Regions from separate parts of the Homo sapiens genome. Here region 2 is linked to region 1. The links are contacts of gene promoters, found by promoter capture Hi-C in blood cells and fetal thymus (Javierre and others, 2016). All regions are on one chromosome and are shown on one strand. Each heading gives the region's core, a stretch centred on a gene start or on the middle of the fragment in contact. The rest is flanking DNA. Distances are from core to core; before and after follow the strand shown.

The links. The method cuts DNA at HindIII sites, captures the fragments that hold promoters and counts their contacts. A CHiCAGO score of 5 or more calls a contact.
Region 2: a fragment that was not itself captured here is called in contact with the fragment with the promoter of RNF212 in region 1 in 1 of 17 cell types (erythroblasts); the score reaches 5.5 in erythroblasts.

Annotation. Positions count from the first base shown.
Region 1 is chr4:1,112,134-1,115,075 of GRCh38, reverse strand. RNF212 (ring finger protein 212) reads left to right here and starts at 1,512. Exons shown (of 10, transcript NM_001131034.4): 1 at 1,512-1,720. The coding sequence starts at 1,612. LOC124900647 (nascent polypeptide-associated complex subunit alpha, muscle-specific form-like) reads right to left here and starts at 1,437. Exons shown (of 3, transcript XM_047416477.1): 1 at 1,324-1,437. It overlaps LOC105374344 (a long non-coding RNA gene), which reads right to left and starts at 1,437. Exons shown (of 3, transcript NR_134676.1): 1 at 1,324-1,437. The HindIII fragment of the contact is 6,439 bases long and covers 1-2,942 here.
Region 2 is chr4:1,646,251-1,649,192 of GRCh38, reverse strand. The region is part of intron 4 of FAM53A (family with sequence similarity 53 member A); the gene reads left to right. Among named protein-coding and RNA genes, the nearest start is that of FAM53A, 37 kb to the left of the region's middle. RefSeq lists an enhancer at 1,474-1,975. The HindIII fragment of the contact is 1,840 bases long and covers 467-2,306 here.

The sequences.
Region 1 (2,942 bases), core at 263-2,762:
ATCCTATTCTTAAACTTATTTTTGAGACTGAGTCTCGCTCTGCTGCACAGGTGCCGTCAGGCTCACCACAGGCTCGATCTCCAGGGCCCAAGCAATCCTCCCACCTCAGCCTCCCGAGTAGCTGGGACCCCAGGGGCCCACCACCACACCCAGCTAATTTTTGTATTTTTTGTAGAGACGGGGTTTTGCCACGTTGCTGGTCTTGCTATTTTAAACTTGGTAGAGATCAGCACTGTCTAACAGAAATAAAAGTGGGCTACATACATAATTCTAATTTGCTGTTGTTGTTGTTGAGACGAAGTCTCACTCTGTTGCCCAGGCTGGAGTGCAGTGGTGTGATTTCGGCTCACTGCAACCTCCGCCTCGTTCAAGCGATTCTCCTGCCTCAGCCTCCGGAGTAGCTGGGATTACAGGCGTGAGCTACCGCACCCAGCCCATACGTAATTCTAAGTTTTCTAGTCTCCACATTGAAAAGGATTTTTTGAAAGGGTAAAATCAACGCTACTGATATATATTTAACCTAATATATCAAAAATATCATGTTAACATGTAATCAATATAAAATTACTAAGAAGGTTTTCATACGAGGCCCTGGAAACAGCTGTATTTTACTCACATCTTTCGGGGCGCAGGGGTCACTTGGCCCGTAGCTACCGGGAGCGCTCACCCTGCGCTCTCCCGGCACAAGCACTTGCCTGAGCCTCTCGATCCGAGCTTTGCAGCGTCCCAGCGGGTGGAAACTCTCAAAACCACGCAGAGGACAATTTTATAAAAAGTCACTTCCCCATGCTGGAACCTGGAAGCAGCAGAGGTCCTTCCCGAGCTACGCCTTCCGTTTCAGAGGGAAGCAGGCTCAGGCCTCCCGTGCTGAGGTCTCTGCGCCAGCGGCCACCTGGACACTAGTCCCAAAGCGTGCAGCGCGGCCTGGCCCCCACCCCCAACTGCCCCCCCCACCCCCACCGCCTCATCACACCCCACCCCCACCGCCTCACGCCCCCACACCCACCCCAACTCCCACATCCCCACTCCCGCTCCCACCCCAACTCCCACACCCACTTATCCCTCCCTCCCTCCTATCCCGCTCCCCGGGCCCCCAGGGCCCCCACGCCCACTCTCCCCTACTCCTCCCCTGCCTCGCCCAGCGCACTACCCTGGCCGCCCTGGCCTCCGGCCCAGCTCCCGGCCCTCAAGGTGGGCCTGGCCCGCATCCCCCGCCCTCGGCGCTCCCCCTCCCCCTCCCCCACTGCTGTCGCGCCGCGACGCCTCCTCAGCGCAGCCGCCATTCCCCGCGCCCGCCACCCAGGCCCGGCTTCCACAAAACACCTGAGGACCGCCAAGACAGGGGCGGGACGTTGGTGCTCGCGGTGCGTTCCTCCGCCTACTCCAGCCCAAACGACCTGGGAGACGAGTCACACGCGCCCTCCCAGGTGCTGCGGGAGAACCCGCGAGGTTGGCGGGAGGGCGCGAGCTCCAGTGCGCGGGCGCAGGGCTGCCGTCGACTTTGCGCAGGCGCAGAGCTGCCCGCCTTCGGGCCCTGCGCGGGGAGGCTGGTCCCAACCTTGCGTGGGCTTCGCGTGGGCCCGGCCTCGCCGCTGCGGTCGCCCGCCTGGCATGGCCAACTGGGTGTTCTGTAATCGCTGCTTCCAGCCGCCCCACAGGACGTCGTGCTTCAGCCTCACCAACTGCGGGCACGTGTACTGCGACGCCTGCCTCGGCAAAGGTCAGGGCTTCCCGAACGCAGGCTGGAGAGGGGAGGGGAGCGGCAAGGGGGTCAGGGAACTCCGGGGGATGGGGGACTTGGGTGGGAGGGCCATGGGGGCACGTGGGGGGCTGCGGAGGAGAGAGGGCGCGTGGAGAAGGGGGAGGGGGCAGGGGGAGGGGGATGCCAGGGGAGAGGCCGCGAGGAGCAGGGGAACTCTGAGGGGAGGGGGACCTGGGGTGGAGGGGCCGCGGGGGCGCGTGGGGGGCCGAGGGGGAGAAACGGCGCATGGAGCGGGGGGGGCATGGGGGGGTGAGAGGCCGCGGAGGTAGGGGTATTCGGAGGAGGGGCCACCGGGGAGTGGGGGCCGCGGGCGTGATGAGGGGCCCGTGGGGAGAGGGGGACACTGGAGAAGCGGTGGGGAGGGAGCGGGGGAGTGAGGGGCTGCGGGAGGGTGGGGAAAGAGGGGACGCCGGAGGTGGTGGGGGGCTGCAGGGAGGAAGGGGACGCCAGAGGAGGGGGGCAAGGTGGGGGATGTGGGGGGTCAAGGCTTGGGGGGGAAGGGGGATACCGAGGAGATGGGGGGAGGGGAGACGCCAGGGGAGGAGGGCGTGGGGGAGGGTCCGCAGGCAGGAAGGGGCCGTGGAGGGGAGGGGCCGCCGGGGGGAGCGGGATGCAAGATGAGGGGGACACAGGGGTCGGGCCACGAGTCCTGTCAGTCGGGGGCTCTGGCTTGCAGGCTGCGGGTCCGCCTGGAGGACCTGGGGGAGAAGCGGGCAGGCGGCAACCTTAACGCCAGTGGAGGACTCTGGCCCTATTCCATGGGCAGCGCGGGGCCCTGGTGTCAAGTGGACAGTCGCATTGTCAGGGAGGCGTTTTTCTTTCTGTGAAAATTTTGTGTTGAACTGATGTTTATGCAAGAACAAAAGCAAAAACACAGTGAGCTTTTACCAAGCGAACTTCCCCGTGAAAGCAGCCAGCTGGGTGCCGGTGGCTCACAGCCCTCCAGCCCCAGGGGACGCCAGCTGTGCTGACCTCCATCCTCGGAGTTGGCCTTAGACCCATGGAGCCTTAGTGAATGCAGCCCTACAACCAGCCCTACAGCAAAGCCGCTTTCTGTGGCTCCCCATCTTTCTTCCTTTTTCTCCCTTCCTTCTCTTTGCCTCTTTCAAGGCAGAGCTCAGCTTTGTCGCCCAGGCTGGAGTTCGGTGGCGGGATCTCGGTTTACTGCAGCCTCCGCCTC
Region 2 (2,942 bases), core at 137-2,636, 530 kb before region 1:
TCCCCTTCCCCTTCCCTTTCCCTTTCCCCTTCCCTTTCCCCTTCCCTTTCCCCTTCCCCTTCCCCTTCCTCTTCCCTTTCCCTTTCTGTTTTGCTCTTGTTGCCCACGCTGGACTGCAGTGGCATGATCTCAGCTCAGTGCAACCTCTGCCTCCCAGATTCCAGAGATTCTCCTGCGTCAGCTTCCCAAGTGTCTGGGATTGTAGGCGCCCACCACCACACCTGGCTAATTTTTGTATTTTTAGTAGAGATGGGGTTTCACCATATTGGCCAGGCTGGTCTTGAACTCTTGGCCTCAGGTAATCCGCCTGCCTTGGCCTCACAAAGTGCTGGGATTACAGGCGTGAGCCACCACTCCCGGCTTGCCCCGTTTTCTTCAGTGACTTTGTTAATGAGCCAGAACAGTGATGTGGGTGCTGCACACCCCATTCTGCTCCTGGGACTCAACCTCACCTGAAATAAAAGCTTTTCGTTTATTTGCTTCATGTGGGGGCCAGGTAATACCTGCCCGCCCTGAAGTGTGCATTGCCTTAAATTCAGCCGCTTTGGTCTGCTTGCTCACGAGTGTCTTCAGTGTGACCGTAGTCATCGCTTTCTGGTAAAAAGGTTTGTGGGGAGAGGGCCTCATCAAATGTCAGGAAAGCCCCTGAGGAGACAGGCAGTGTCTTCAGGGGCCACGTCTGCAAACCCAGAGCCCTCCTGACCGCGGCTGCAGAGGACAGTGCCAAGACTCCTGAGGGGCCAGGGCTGCCTGCTCTCCCTCTTTCCAGCTCTTTGCTCATCCCACCCAAAAACTGGCTCCCACCTTTCTCTGTGTCCCTCATCTGCCGTCTGTGTGCCCCTCTCCCTGTCAGCCAACCAGTCTTCACCCACACCCACCTACCCCTGCCTGCACCGCATCACCTGAATATGTGGCACCTTTGGTGAACACTTGGCCCCCAGCCTGGGTTACCTGTCAGTTCCTGGTTTTGTTTTGTTTTTTGGAGACAGGGTCTCTCTCTCTGTTGCCCTGGCTGGAGTGTAGTGGTATAATCACAGCTCACTGCAGTCTCCATCTCCTGGACCCAGGTGATCCTCCCACCTCAGCCTCCTAAGTAGCTGGGACCACAGGTGCACACTCCTGTGCCCAGCTAATATTCTCAATTTTTTAAGAGACAGAGCCTTACTATGTTGTCCAAGTTGGTCTCAAATTCCTGGGCTCAAGCCATCTTCCTGCCTCACCTCCCAAAGTGCTGGGATTGCAGGCGTGCGCCACCAGGCCCAGGCTTTGCCACTTCCTGTTTGTGTCAAGCTCCTCTCCACCTCAGGGCCAAAAAGAAATGCTCTGATTTTCCTCTACAACTTTTATAATTGTGTGTTACCGGACAATTAGTCCTGACTCTGGGTGGGCACACACACATACCCACCATGCACACTCACCCCCACGCTTATGTGCACACTCAGGTGCACACTCCCACTCATGTGCACACTCCCACTCATGTGCACCGCTGCATGCTCACGCTCGCTCACATCCGCACCCCGGCTGTGCTGTGCTTGCACCTGGCGGACTCGGTATGCGCAGCCCAGCTCTAGTCCGGCGTCCCTGGCGTGTGTTGTGCAGTCTGCGTGCGCAACTGTGTTCACCCTGCAGGGCTCCTATGTCGGGGCTTATCAGTGGGACCGTTCGGCGATCATCCTCAACCCCCCGCCACCCCCTGCTGTCTGCTCTGAGTCTAGGCTCACACCAGCTTCCCCAGGTGTCAGAGGGCTGCTCTCTGAGCAGGGTGCAGGGGCACTGCCTTCCCTGCCTTTCCCTTGGAAACAGTGCATGTTTTCCTAGGAAAACATTTAGGATTTTCTGCTTTTTTTTTTTTTTTCCCGAGATGGAGTCTCGCTCTGTCACCCGGGCTGGAGTGCAATGGTGCCATCTCGGCTAACTGCAACCTCTGCCTCCCAGGTTCAAGCGATTCTCTGCCTCAGTCTCCTGAGTAGCTGGGATTACAGGTGCCTGCCACCATGCCTGGCTAATTTTTTGTATTTTTAGTAGAGAGGGGGTTTCACTATGTTGGCCATGCTGGTCTCGAACTCTAGACCTCAGGAAATCCACCCACCTCAGCCTCCCAAAGTGCTGGGATTACAGGCATAAGCCACCATGCCCGGCTTTTACTGGCGAAGCTACTTTTTCTGTTTTTATTGGCAAAGCTATGTTTCAAAGTTGAAATTAAAATATGACCATTGAAAATATGCACATCAGTTATGGTTCCAGCAGAGTGTGGAAGCAGCTGCTGGTTTCTATAAAAGCGTGTGCTTTTAGGGCTTTGAAAAGCTTTTGCCACGTAGAGAAGGCGCTCAGCTGCCTCTGGAGAGACCGAGGCTGCTGCAGAGAAAGAAACAGCTTCCTATGTGGCCCTGCAGCTGGGTCACCCAGAGCCTGAGGAGTTCTTCAGACAGGCAGGCAGCTTTGGGGCCAGCAGTTACATCATGGGCTAGAACCTAAGGACAAGCTAGAGGTGCATGTGGCCGTGTTCACACCTTCAGGCCCGCTGCGTTTTTGGAGGTCTTGGGTTTAGTGAGCAGATGGTGCCTTCCGCGGCCTCAGTCACGAGAGCGCAAGGCTTGTCCTCCATGGGGGGGCCTCTGCTGCACCTGCTGAGCTGTTTTCTCTGTGCCTCCTGGGTGAAAATTGAAAAACCAAAAGCTTTGAGCAGCTCCTGGTACCAAGAAAAGGACTGACTTAGTTTGTTTTTGCTGCTGTAACAAAATACCCCCGACGACGTCACTTATAAATAAGAGAAATGTATTTCTCAAGAGTTCTGGGCTGGGCACAGTGGCTCACGCCTGTAATCCCAGCACTTTGGGAGGCCGAGGTGGGCAGATCATGAGGTCAGGAGATCGAGACCATCCTGGCTAACACAGTGAAACCCTGTCTCTACTAAAAATACAAAAAATTAGCCGGCATGGTGG